Regions from separate parts of the Homo sapiens genome. Here all the other regions are linked to region 1. Evidence: promoter capture Hi-C in 16 types of primary human blood cells and fetal thymus (Javierre and others, 2016). All regions are on one chromosome and are shown on one strand. The core of a region is centred on a gene start or on the middle of the fragment in contact, and the rest is flanking DNA. Distances in the headings are between cores, read along the strand shown. Region 1 holds the start of LINC01594 (long intergenic non-protein coding RNA 1594). Region 2 overlaps LIMS1 (LIM zinc finger domain containing 1). Region 3 holds the start of LIMS1 (LIM zinc finger domain containing 1).

Region 1 (4,437 bases), core at 975-3,474:
ACTTTAGATAGTAATTGAAATGCTCTGGTATTTAACGATGTGTGTGACTTTTAAAATGTGTTTTTGATAGACTCTGATAATTTTATAAAACTACACAAACTCATACGAATTTTTCCATGCTGTCCAGTAATCGATTGATTGCTTCTCAGTCCAAATTCACTGTCTGCCCTCTCTGCGAAACTGAATCTGAACCCTTTCAATATTTTTCCTTTGCCAGCTGCTGTGATGTTGAAACCTTGTCAGCAGAGAGCACTGGAGAGACATTGTGGGAGGAAAGAGTTTTGCTTCCTGGTTCAGGGTTTTCACTGGCCAGGCTCCCGTGGTTCTTCTCCACTGTGCCAGCTCCTCTAGGTCCCACTCCTGCAGCACACATGGCTTCCCCAGGGTTCAGCTCCTGCAGTGGGGGTGTCCAGTGCTTCCCCAGCTTCCTCCCAGGATGGTTTTGTAGTAGGATGCCTCCAGGGAGACACATCCTTGTGAACACCTTCCCCACACCCTAGAGGGTGGATTTCCTGCAAGTTTCAGAGAGTAGAGCAAGTTCTTCCAGAATTGAACCGCAGTAGCTTCTCTGTTGTCCCATGAGTCATGCCACGTCCTCTCCCATAAGGTCTGGGTCTCAGTCCTGGTGGGCATGGGAAGACAGGTTCTTTTCGAAGAGGCTCTTACTCTATCTCAGCCCTAGGGATAGTGGCTGTTCCTTATATTTGATATTCCTATATTCTTCAGAGTTTTACTTCTTACTTGCCAACACCTCGTTACTCCAATCTCTTGTTAGAGTTAATCATTCTCTGTATTAAACTTTTCTTGTTTAAATTAATGTGGTTTCTCTCTCCTCTCTCCCAAAAATCCTGTGTGAGCATTTGAAATGCTTTTATTTGTGATACATATCTTCTAAACTTTCACAGAAATTTGAACATGTTTCTGACATGAATAATTGATTTTGAAATGTAAACTAACATGAGGTTTGCATGTTCTCCAATACTACTACTAATTTTTGAGTTATGTTAAAGATTTACAATAAAACATTCAATGTCCTTCCCAGATAACTTTGTGATTTAGTTCTAAGTTGCTTTATTATTTCCACATGCAAATACGTAATTTATTTCTTTGTCCATCAGCTGTTAATATTTTTGACTTTTTCCTTTTTATATAGCAGGAGATTAAAAGAACGTTTCATAAACACTCAAGTGCACCTTTAAATGCTGGGTAGGTCGAGTGGCATAGTGAAATATAGATATTGAGGAACATTATTATGTGTTTTCGTAAAACTAGACAGTGGACTCATTAGAATAATGTGGCAAAGAAATTTTAAAAATAATCCTTATAAAAGAAACATCATAAAAACAGAGAAAAAGGCTTAAATAGTATTACAGCTTTTATGTTACTTCTGCTTTCTATCTCTTCTTTCTCTGGCTCGCTTCTTAGATAATCTCATTCTCTCACATGGATTTTAAATTTCTGCAACATGGTACCATCTTCCAAATTTTTATCTCCACCTCAGATCTCAACCCTGAATTCCTAAATTGTCAGCCCAACTGCCTACTTCATATCTCTACTTCCTTGTTTTATATACATTTCAAACAGAAAAAGTCAAACCCACAAACCTAATTCACCCACTGTCTTCTTCATCTCAATTAAAAGGCAACTCCATCTTTTCAGTTGCTCAGCCAAAGCTTATTCTATTTCTCTCTCTCTTGCACACTACATCCAATCCATACATCATTTGGCTCTGACTTCAAACTATATCCAGAACATGACCTCTTCTTATCAACATTACTGTGACCAACCTCCTCTGAGTCACTGGCGTGTCTTCCCTGAAGACTTGCAATCACAACCTAATGAATATCCCTCCTTCTATGTCATAATTACCCAGTCACCATATGATCCTAAATGGATCACATCACTGTGCTGATCAAAATGCTGCAGCAGTGCCCCAACCCATTCAGTCTAAGCTGAATTGTATCACGGTCTCCTGTCCTACACCATCTGTCCCCAGGTCCCTTTCTAACCACCTTCTAACCTTTGCACACTCACTTCTCTTCAGACCTAGTGACTTCCCCACTCTTCCTTGAACTCACCTAGTGTAGTCCTGCCATAGAGACTTTGGCCTGGCATTTCCTCTGCCAAGAATGCTCTTCGATCAAACAGCTACATGACCCTCTCCTCATATCCTTCAATCTTTACCCAGAAAGCATCATTTCAGTCATGTCTTCCCTGATCATTCTACTTACAATCCAGCACTTCCTGGTTCCCCTTATTCTGCCCTAATCATTTCCATCACAAGTATCATCTCTTCTAACATACTCTACACTTTGCTCACTAAATTGGAGGCTCCAGGAAGACCATTCTCAGCCTCTGCCCATTGCCCAACAATCACATGGCCAGAACTAGAGATGATTTACAAAGGCAACATTCAAGGCCTCCCACAGGTATCCAGTGGACTGAATCTCAGAATTCTACCAGCATTGTTTTCTCACAAGAGATGCCTAGGTTATGGTTGGATCTCACATGGAAAAATATACAGGATGAGTATTCCCTGGGAAAGAGATTGCCATGGTTTGGACATTTGTCCCTTCCAAACCTTATGTTGAGATCTGATTCTAAATGTTGGAGGTGGGGTCTAACAGAAGGTGTTTGGGTGATAGTGGGAGACCCCTCAGGAATAGATTAATACCCTCCCCAGGAGTGAGTGAGCTCTTGCTCTATTCCTTCCCACAAGAGTTGGTTGTTAAAAAGAGCCTGGAAACTCCCTTCTCTTGCTTCCTGTCTTACCATGTGATTTTTGGATGCACTGACCCCCTTCACCTTCTGCCAGAAGTGGAAGCAGTCTGAGTCCCTCACCACGTGTCCAGTCTTCCAGCCATCAGAATTATGAGCCAAATAAACATTTTTTAAAATAAATTTCCCAGCCTCAGCTATTCCTTTATAGTGACACTAAATAGTCTAAAGACGGGGTGGTGGTCAAAATTCAAGCATCTTTCACCATAATGAATTGAATGTGCTGTTCATTAGTGAGACTCTGAAGACAATCTGACTTTTGACCTCTTGGGTAAAAGGTACACAAATTTAACCTTAATCATTGCACTTAATGGCCAGACTTTTTAAAACCATGAGTTTAAAAGTGTGATTCTTAGGGAGCTAGCCTGATTCCCCCTTAGAATTTTTCATAAGTCACTGTGACAACTGCAAAATATCATCAGCACAAAGACACAGCATAAAAATGAGTTACAAATACACGTCCTTAAAGGAAATAAATTCACTACTTTCTTGTCCAAGATTATGGCTAAAATTACAGCTCATTGGCACAGATTTTATATCTATCTATCTATCTATCTATCTATCTATCTATCTATCTATCTATCTATGTAAAACACTGATGAAACTGAAAAACTTGGAACAGTATCTGGTCCAAGGTAGCTGCTTAATAAACGTCTGATGAATTGAATGGAAACTGGAAGACTATCATTTATTATATGAGTCTTTAAAGTAACAATGAAGTTTCTATTTAAATGTAATTTTTAAAGTTTTGTAAATTGTGTTGTCAGTACTGACAACAATAAAATAACCAAGAAATAATATATGAGTGCTTATTGATGAAGAAATAAATTAAATGCAGTCCAATTAGGTACCAGACAAGAAAATAATGGGCTTAAATTCTTACGAATATTATAATAATGTTCAACTAACATACTTCCACCCATCGCCGTGTACTGCCATGAGTACCTCACACTGAATTGCAAATAATTTCAACATTATTGCACCAACGTCAAAATAAGAAAATGCAGAGAATCATGGCCTTTTTTCCAACCTCATGGCAGCTTAAAAAATATATCTCACCCTTAATGCATTCTAACCATGGGCCAGGTTTGGCTGTGAGAGCTGCTGCACAGACAGAACTAATTAGTCAACACTTTATGTATGGGATGTTGGATTTTGAACATAGCAGCTTTTGGTAAAATCAGAGATTTGTCCAAGGCAGACACTGAGAAATATAACAAATTAAGCTTTGATTAAGTCAGTTTTAAATGGATGACTCACACTTTTTAACGGTTGTGAACAGAAGCCAAACAGCAAATCTGAAAAAAAAATCTAAACTCTTGTTCAGAGAAGAGATTAATCTAAATCTGTGGGGAGGGAGGAGGAAAGGGGACTCAGAGCTGCAGCACCTGTGGAGAGCCTGGGACAGTCTCCTGAAGCACAGGCCAGTGTCCTATGCCTCCCTCCGACCTTGTTAGCCCACGTGGCACAGGAACACCAAGGGCCTGGTCAATGGCTCAAGGTCTTTCCTGCTCATTCCCCCTCACTTCCTGCTAGATGCAGCTATCAACAAACCAGACTCCAGCTCTGCCCCAGCCTCCACCAGACTTCAAACCAGTCTCAAAACCGAGCAGTTTAGCCCCAAAATGCATTTTAAAACTTTTTGCCATGTTTTTTTCC
Region 2 (4,437 bases), core at 899-3,398, 360 kb after region 1:
GCTGTTGCCTGAGAAGCTAGCACAGTGCCTGACACACTGTTAAGTCAGTGCTCTTTCAAGTTACTCCCTGAGAATTCCCTTTCCCTCTCCCACTTCGTGAACCACAGCTAATACAGACTCACTTCCGTGATGAACCCGGTAAGGCCTAGGCCTTTCTTGCTGCTGCTGCATTTCGCAGCGCTTTGCAGATGCTGCCTCTGCTGTGTCACGACAGAATATTGCAATATGTTTTGTGTGTACATCGCAGTCTAGGAAGTTACTCCGGGCTCTGCCTTAGTTATCCTTATGTGCCCCGTACCTATAGCAGTTAGTGATATGGTAGTCATTGGGTAAATATTCACTGAAATGAAAATGGAAGTTTTCAATGTGTATGTATTTGTTTTCTACTTACCCCTATTTTAATGGTACAGAGTGGGTAAGGGTAGGTTAACACTTGCATTTGCTCAAAAGTTAATTTTTACAATAACTAAATGTTTTTACATTCTTAAAATGTATTTTACATTCTTAACAAACATGAATCTATATTGTAGTACTTTATTTTTTAAGAGAGAGAGAAAAAAGGTGCTTCAGATGTTCTTACAAAGCTGTTTAGCATTTCTGGGAACTTAATAAAGTATTTTGGCTCAGCAGTTAAAAAATGAAAATCTATTTTTTCTGAGAAATAAAGTCTTGCCCATCTGTTCTCTCCTCTTACCGTGTGACTGTTAAATGCTATTCTGAGATTGTATGTTTTGTTTTGTTTTGTTTTGTTTTTTGAGACGGAGTCTTGTCTTGTTCTGTCGCCCGATCTAGAGTGCAGTGGCACAGTCTCGGCTCACTGCAACCTTCACCTCCCAGGTTCAAGTGATTCTCCTGCCTCAGCCTCCCGAGTAGCTGGGATTATAGATGTCCGCCACTGCGCCTGGCTAATTTTTGTATTTTTTAGTAGAGATGGGGTTTCACCATCTTGGCCAGGCTGGTCTCGAACTCCTGACCTCGTGATCCACCCGCCTTGGCCTCCCAAAGTGCTGGGATTACAGGCATGAGCCACCGCGCCCAGCCTGTATGTTTTGATACTATAGAGAGGTATACAATAAAATTGCCTGTTAGTCACCATTTCTAATTATGGTTCATTTTATCATTCAATTATTTTTAAGAGCTTATTAGCATGTGTATATGTAAAGATGTGTTTCATATATTTTTAATCTCTACATCCTTTCATATTTTGTTATACTCTCTTTAAATGCAAGCACTTATTTTGAAGTAGTTTTAAATGTTATAATATCTCCACCATATGAAATAAGGAATATCTGCACTTTCCTCCACCCCCTTCTCTGAGATTACTGCAGCCAGAAGGTTAATGCCTTAGCTGAACTCTTAAAAGCATTTCCGTTATCATAAGCTTAAGAAATGTTTGTCTTAGTTCATGGAATGTAAATAATTTTTTTTTTTTTTTTTTTTTTTGGAGACGGAGTCTCTCACTGTGGCCCAGGCTAGAATGCAGTGGCACGATCTCAGCTCACTGCAAGCTCCACCTCCCAGGTTCACGCCATTCTCCTGCCTCAGCCTCCCAAGTAGCTGGGACTACAGGTGCCCACCACCACGCCTGGCTAATTTTTTTGTATTTTTAGTAGAGATGGGGTTTCACTGTGTTAGCCAGGATGGTCTCAATCTCCTGACCTCGTGATCTGTCTGCCTCAGCCTCCCAAAGTGCTGGGATTACAGGCGTGAGCCATTGCTCCTGGTCATGAAATGTAAATAATTTTTAAATCTAGTTTACAAAGAAAAATGATGATGTAGGGATATCATTTTTTTGTTCCTCAAGAATAAATTTAGTCTTAAATTTCAGGTTAGCATCCTGGATTCATTATCCTATATCACTTTTTGGTATGCATTCATGGGATTTTGTAGGCAGTTTCATGCCAAAGTGTTGTGTTTTCCAAAGTCCAATTTTTTTTGACTGGTTTAACTAACATTCATTTTGAGATGATTCCAAATTTTGTAACAAAAACAACTTATATTTGAATTTTCACCTTTATAATTTTAAAAAATCTATTCTGTAGCCCTGAGATTTGGACAAAATGGTAATTATGTTATTTTATGGATATTAAAGCTGAATATAAAGAATTTTTATCGAACCAAGATGTCACAGCTCTTATAGTAAGTGGCATGATTAAGACTATAATTTTACTTGTACTCAGTGTACCTTCTACCACTATATAATGTTTCCAAGCATATGAACTTATTACTAGTCTGTATCTATGGTTTTCAGTGATGTTAAATGTGTTTTTAAAAATTTTATTAATATGTAATACACAAGAGTGCAAAAATCTTAAGTGCACAACTTAGGAATTTTCACAAAGCAAAAGCATGGTCAAATGATTTGGACTATGAATTAATATTAAAATACAATGAATTTAATATTGGATGCCTAGAGTCTCTTGATTCCAGAGAAATACATTTATTTTTAAACTTGTGTTACACTTCCCTGAATACTCATTTGAAGTGTTTCTGATTTCCTCATTTGCTCATTTGTTTGACAGTATTCACAGCGAGCCTGCCCTCTGCCAGGCATGACTGGCATGGGGCACAGCTGTGAACAGGAATCATCACTTGTAACTTGAGGTCAGACTAAAGGACACAGGCAAATTCCTGTGGAGCAAGAGGGCCTTCCGGAGAACTTCCCAGAGGAAGCGACCTCTTGACTGAGTCCGAGTGTGAATGGGAATCATCCCAAGAAGAGTTTAGGGAGGAAGGCAAGAGGCACCAGGCCAGGAGGGCTGTTGAGATGTGACAGGCAGATCCGCAGGGCTGCAGCCTGTGCAGTGAGGGCTGGAGCTGGGGGATGCCGGGTGGGAGCAAGGACAGCCAGGTCCGTTTTTACTGGCACTGTAGTTTCCTTGATTATCAACAACAGGAATAGACTCAGGCAAACAGAAGCTTCAAAGAAATTTACTGGAAAAATACTGGGGTTGCTCCCAGAATTGAAGAATGGGCTGAACTTACAGGTCTCTGAGAAGGGCAAACAACTAGGGCTTTCCCGGTGTCTCTGCAGAACTTGTGGGATGTCTCTATAGAGCAGTGCTCTGAGTTGACTTCCTCTAACTGCAGGGTGTTAGTCTCTACTCAGATTTCTAGTCTTTGAGAAATAGTATCTGATTAACTTAGTTCAAGTCCATAGTCCAAATGGACCAGGACCAGTCATTGTGGCCAGAGGATAGGAAGAAGCACCATGCCTAGTCAATCAAGGTAGGTGACTGTTAGGTGGTCAGGACAACTAGATCTGTTACCTGAAACAGAGAGTGGACGACATGGGTACCCATGTGGATGACATGACCACCCAGAAGGCAGTGTTACGGTAGCTCAGAGAAGAGGTGGTTTGGGAACAGTGATTAGGAAAGAGGGATGTTCAGAGGCCAGTTACAAGGCTGTTGCATTAATCCACATAGGAGGTGATGGTGCCAGAAGTAGATGCAGCCTGTACAGATATAAAGTAGTAAATCGATTCAGAAACAGTTAAGAGGCAGAGAAGAAAGGACTTTGCAGCTGGACATTGGGAGGTGTGTGAGGATGATTAAGTTGTTGAAGATGACTCTCAGGTTTCTCGCTTGGACTAGAACCATTGTGTTCATAGTGGTCCCTTGCATGGAGGAGAGAGAGTTTCAGGAGGGGGATGGGGCTTTCATTCAGTTATGAAGTAATAAGTTGGAGTATCTAAGCAGACCACATTTAATTTAAGAACACTTGGGTATGAACAACACTTCCCCATTAAATTACTTGTGGGGTTCCAGCTCTGCCATCAGGGCCCTCTCACTCCAGCATCGTGGCCTCTGCCAAGGTTGTTACTCTCTTTTTGTGTCCCTGGGCTGCTGAAATCTTCTCACCGTATTGCCATGGAATTTGTAACGTGCTTCCTTCTGCTTCCCTACCTTAGGCAGGTTTGGGTCTGAGTGGGTTTTGGAATGAGTATTGTTAAAGGAAGTTAAAATGAAGACCAGGCCTGTGAAATCTCTGAGCGCACAAAACCAGTTAGGCCTTATATGTTACCTCAGCCTTGCTTAAATTGCAGACATAAGCAGAACAAGTAGAGTCATTTTGATAAATGTTTATGTTAGAAGTAAAACTTAACCCCCGCCAGTCGTAAGCTGCCAACTAACATATGACTAAGTGACTAGGGGCTTTCCAACAAGGTACCTAAAAAAAGGCAATTCTGTAATTTCAAATCAATCAAATAATTTCTTTATTTTGCTTCTACGTTTCCCAGTAAATACTTGTCTCTGACTTTTTGTCATTGGGACACTAAAACTTTTTTCGTCTGGTGTTCCCCAATTCATGAATTGCTTCTTACTCAAATAAACTCTTTAAAATTGTATTGTTCCTCAGATTTTTCTTTTATAGTAACTTTCCCAAACTCAGAAAGGCCCCCAGAGCTTAGGGGCTTTTAGGACTAAGTGCTGC
Region 3 (4,437 bases), core at 1,298-3,797, 320 kb after region 1:
GAATCGGGGTCTCACTCTGTCACCCAGGCTGCAGTGCAGTGGTGCAATTATAGCTGGCTGGAACTACAGGTGCACGCCACCATGCCCAGCTAATTTTTAATTTTTTTTTTTTGTAGAGACAAGGCAGGGGGGTCTCCCTTTTCTTCCCAGGCTGGTCTTGGACTCCTAACCTCAAGGGATCCTCCTGCTTCGACCTCCAAAAGTGCTGGGATTACAGGTGTGAGCCACCATGCCCAAATTTGTACATTCTTTTGGTGTACATATAAGAATACATTTGTAAGATAAATTCCAAAATATGAATATCTTGGGTCAAAGAAGAGCTGAATTTTACATTGATAGCTATTGCCCACTTGTTCTTTACAAAGCGTGTATGGATTTATACTCCTATCAACAATAAATTAGCCAGGCATGCTGACGTGCACTCGTAAACCCTGCTATTCAAAAGGATAGTTGAAGTCCAAGAGTTCAAGACCAGTGTGGGTAACATAGAGAGGCCTCCTCTAGGGGAGGAAAAAAGGGTTTCCCTATATCCTCATCAAAACAATATATAGTCAAACTTTTCATCTTTGCATTTGTGAAAAATTGTATTTTATTTTTGTTTTATGATACTTTAAGAAATCATTTGTATTTTTCTGTAGAAACCTGTTTTTCTCTGAGTTGAACATTTTTGTACTGATTTTTTTAATAATTAGAACTTTTTTAATAATTTAGAACTTTTTGTCATACATTTTACAAATATTTTTCTTGGTTGGGGTTTGTTATATTTATTTGCTATGCAGAAAATTTAGATTTCTATGTAGTTACATTTATCAATTTTTATTTATTTATTTAGAGACAGAGTCTTGCTCTGTCGCCCAGGCTGGACTGCAATGGCGCGATCTCGGCTCACTGCAACCTCTGTCTCCCAGGTTCAAGTAATTCTCCTGCCTCAGCCTCCCAAGTAGCTGGGATTACAGGAACCCCGCCACCACAACCGGTGAAATTTTTGTATTTTTATTAGAGACGGGGTTTCACCATGTTGGTCAGGCTGGTCTCAAACTCCTGACCTCAGGTGATCCACTCACCTCAGCCTCTCCAAGTGCTGGGATTACACGCGTGAGTCACCGTGCCCGGCCTACATTTATCAATTTTTAATTTTATGGTTTATATGCTCTTTGAAAAGTCTCTCACCACTCCAACCTTACTTTTGTTTTTTTCCCTTGTTTTCTTCTGGTATTTTCATAACCTCTCTCTTTTTTTTTTTTTTTTTTTTTGTTTTTTGAACATTTAACTATTTGCTTTGTTTGGAATTTACTTTCATGTGAGGACATCAAATAGATCCAGTGTTTTCCTCCGACATGCCTCGACTGGCAGGAGACCAAAGTTTTCATTCTATTACTAGAGAGTAGCTATAGTTACAGAATCAGGTATCCTGAGAGAGATCATTTATGCCCAGGATGAATAACTTGTCTTATCTATTAAATCTATTAAATCCTTTGGAGATTTCACTTTTTTTTTTTTTTTTTTTTGGGACGGAGCCTGTTACCTAGGCTGGAGTGCAGTGGCGCGATCTCCCAGCTCACCACAAGCTCCGCCTCCCAAGTTCAAGCGATTCTCCTGCCTCAGCCTCTCGAGTAGCTGGGATTACAGGCATGTGCCACCACCACGCCCGGCTAATTTTGTATTTTTAGTAGAGACGGGGTTTCTCCATGTTGGTCAGGCTGGTCTCGAACTCCTGACCTCAGGTGATCCGCCTGCCTCAGCCTCCCAAAGTGCTGGGATTACAGGCGTGAGCCACTGCGCCGGCCCCAAAATTTCAGGTTTTGATAGACGGAATGGGTGAAGAAAATGAGAGCTAGCAAGGAAGAACAGGATGCAGAGGCAAGACTGGAAACTCTCCAAGAAAGGTTAACTTTTCTTAACTCACAAGTTAAACAAAGGCTGCAGGCTCCATGCGGAGCTCAGGCACCCAGCGGTGACCGATCCAGACCAGGTCCTCCCGGAAGCCCGGCCTGCCCGACAGAGCCTTACCACAGAGCCCCCTCAGGCGTCCTCGCCAGGACGGGGCGGAACCCTGTGTAGCTCCCACCCCCGGGACGAAGGCCGCTGCCAGGGCCGCGCAGCCACGCGAGTGGAATCAGAGGAGCCTCGAGGCAAGGAGAGCCGGGCCCCGCTCCCTGCGCCCGTCACCGCCATCCTTGTTGTAGGGAACTCGGCCCCCGAGCCGCCGCCGCGCTCCGTGGGCTCCCAATGAGCCCCTACCCCAGCCACCCGCTGCGTTTGCGCCAGCCTCCCAGACTAGCCTGGGGTGCTGAAATGGGGGCGGGCCCGAGCCACGGGTTGGGGCGGGGTCTGATGCGCGCCCCGCCCCGCAACGCCCCGCCCCCCCGCGCCTACCTCTCCAGTCCGCGCCCTTCGGCGCCCGCCCCGCCAGTCCCCGCCCCTCCTTGCCCAGCCGCTCCCGCCCCTCCCCCGCCTTCCCGCGCGGCCCGCCTCGCCTTCCCCCCCCTCCCGCGCCCCCGCGCGGCCGGCCCCTGGCCTTCCTCCCCTTCCTGCTCCGGGCCCGCCAGTAGCCGGCCGCGGCGGCGAGGGACTAGGACGCGGCTGGAGCGGCGCCGGGAGACGAGGGGCTGAGAGACGGCGGCGGCCGAAAGCGGAGAGATGCTGGGCGTGGCGGCCGGGATGACCCACAGGTACGGGCCGCACCGCGCGGCCCCCGCCACGTCCGCCCCGCAGCTCCCGGCGGGCCTTCGGGCCGGGCCGGGCCGGGCCTGGCGCGGGCGGGCGGCCGGGCTTTCCCCGCGGCCTCCCCCGGTCGGCCGGAGCCCCGACCCCCAGCGCTCGGGTGGCGGCGTGGCTGCGTCCGGGCCCGCGGAGGAGACGGCTGCTGTTCACTCCCGGGTGTCCGCGGTGGCACAGGCGCTGACGCCGCCCCGCTGCTCCGAGAGTTCCATAAGACAAATCAGTATTTGCCGAGCTAATCATTTATCTTCTAGCAGTAGGGATCAGCGGGTCGCAGACGTCTTGGTCTCAGGACCCCTCTTGGGACTAGAGGACCTGGAATGGTGGCTATCTCCATAGACTGTACTAGAAAGGAAAACCGAGACACTGAAGTTACTATTAACTCATTGAATAAATCCGTGGTATGTTAACGTACATACCACATTTTTATGCAACATAGGGTTTTGCTAAAACAAAAGAGTTCGTGGGACGACTGGCGTCCTTTACAGTTTGCGAATCTCTTGAGTTGTCTGACTTAGTAGAGACAACTACGTTCTCCCATCTCCTTTGCAGTTCAGTCTGTTGCGGTATGTTTTTATATGAAGAAAATCTGATCTTACACAGATGTGTAGTTGGAAAAGTGAGTACTGTCTTAATAGCTGTTTCAGATAATTATGGGTATTCTTTATTACTACACCAAAACTACGTAAGTGGAAGTTTCTCAAAGGCTGGTTTGGACGTGGAATCTGAAGCTACTGTCAGCGGACTTTTCACACAGTTTCGTTAAAATTCCTTGGTCTGTCTTGCAGTTTGAATGCAGCTAAAGCTCCTGTCAGTGGCCTTTGCACACAGTTACGTTAAAATTCCTTGGTCTGTCTTGCAGTTTGAATGCAGCTGTTACCCATTGTAACACCATATATTTGTCGTTTGGAAGATATTGGCTCACTGAGTTTGGCAGATCTCAAGCTGACGCATTTCATTAATAGCGCCGAATAACATTCGTTACCATCGCTATTGATTTCATTAGGAAAGTCTTTATGTTAAAAGCCGTCAGATACAAGGTGGTGTTTACAAGTTTTCCAAAATTCTCATTTTCGGTTGAAAGCTTGCTTTTTATCATTGGGAGCAAAATATTGTCAATTGTTTTCCTCAAAGTGACAGACTCACTTTGTTCAGTTTCAAGGAAGTGTCCGGCAATACAGGTTTAAATAACCCTAGTTTGTCAGTTGTTCTTTCCCGTAAAAATGGTATTTCATGACACAAGCAAGTTAATTCAGCTCATCGCTCTATTACAGAAGTGCACGCCTGCCATTTGGTCACAAGTAACAAAAAAGAGTCAAAGCTCAAGATTTGATAACAATAATTTGTACTCCTTCATCATGGACTTTTTTCCTTAAAAAAAAGTATTGACTAGTAAGTTGATATAAAATTTAAAGTATTTGTGAGATATTAAGAATAACGGATATGTAGTGTAATAAAGGAGATAATAGTTTCCTTTTAAGACCTTCAAACCTCTCTGGTCCAGTGTCTCTCCGCATCCTATCCCCTTCCCATCCTGAATTTACCATTAGTAATTTACTTTTTGGAGGGAGAGTAATAAGTTCATTCAAATTATTGTGCATCCGTAACCATCATACATGTCCAGAAATCTTTATCTTACAAAACTGAAACTCTGTACCTATTAAACAATAATTCTCCATTCCCCTCCTCCCGCCAGTCCCTGGCAGCCATCATTTT

What was found. Contacts are between HindIII fragments. The CHiCAGO score rates a contact against its expected background, and 5 or more counts as called.
Region 2: a fragment that was not itself captured here is called in contact with the fragment with the promoter of LINC01594 in region 1 in 3 of 17 cell types (M0 macrophages, megakaryocytes and M1 macrophages); the score reaches 10.8 in M0 macrophages.
Region 3: a contact is called between the fragment with the promoter of LIMS1 here and the fragment with the promoter of LINC01594 in region 1, in 3 of 17 cell types (M2 macrophages, M0 macrophages and M1 macrophages). The highest score is 7.8, in M2 macrophages.

What each region holds. Positions count from the first base shown.
Region 1 is chr2:108,215,617-108,220,053 of GRCh38, forward strand. It overlaps LINC01594 (long intergenic non-protein coding RNA 1594), which reads right to left and starts at 2,225. Exons shown (of 5, transcript NR_131251.1): 1 at 2,079-2,225. The HindIII fragment of the contact is 2,331 bases long and covers 1,672-4,002 here.
Region 2 is chr2:108,577,168-108,581,604 of GRCh38, forward strand. The region is part of intron 1 of LIMS1 (LIM zinc finger domain containing 1); the gene reads left to right. Among named protein-coding and RNA genes, the nearest start is that of LIMS1, 45 kb to the left of the region's middle. The HindIII fragment of the contact is 1,538 bases long and covers 1,380-2,917 here.
Region 3 is chr2:108,531,923-108,536,359 of GRCh38, forward strand. LIMS1 (LIM zinc finger domain containing 1) reads left to right here and starts at 2,548. Exons shown (of 10, transcript NM_001193483.3): 1 at 2,548-2,672. The coding sequence starts at 2,641. It overlaps GCC2-AS1 (GCC2 antisense RNA 1), which reads right to left and starts at 2,297. Exons shown (of 3, transcript NR_135290.1): 1 at 1,907-2,297. RefSeq lists silencers at 1,411-1,705, 2,194-2,793. The HindIII fragment of the contact is 7,547 bases long and covers 1-3,803 here.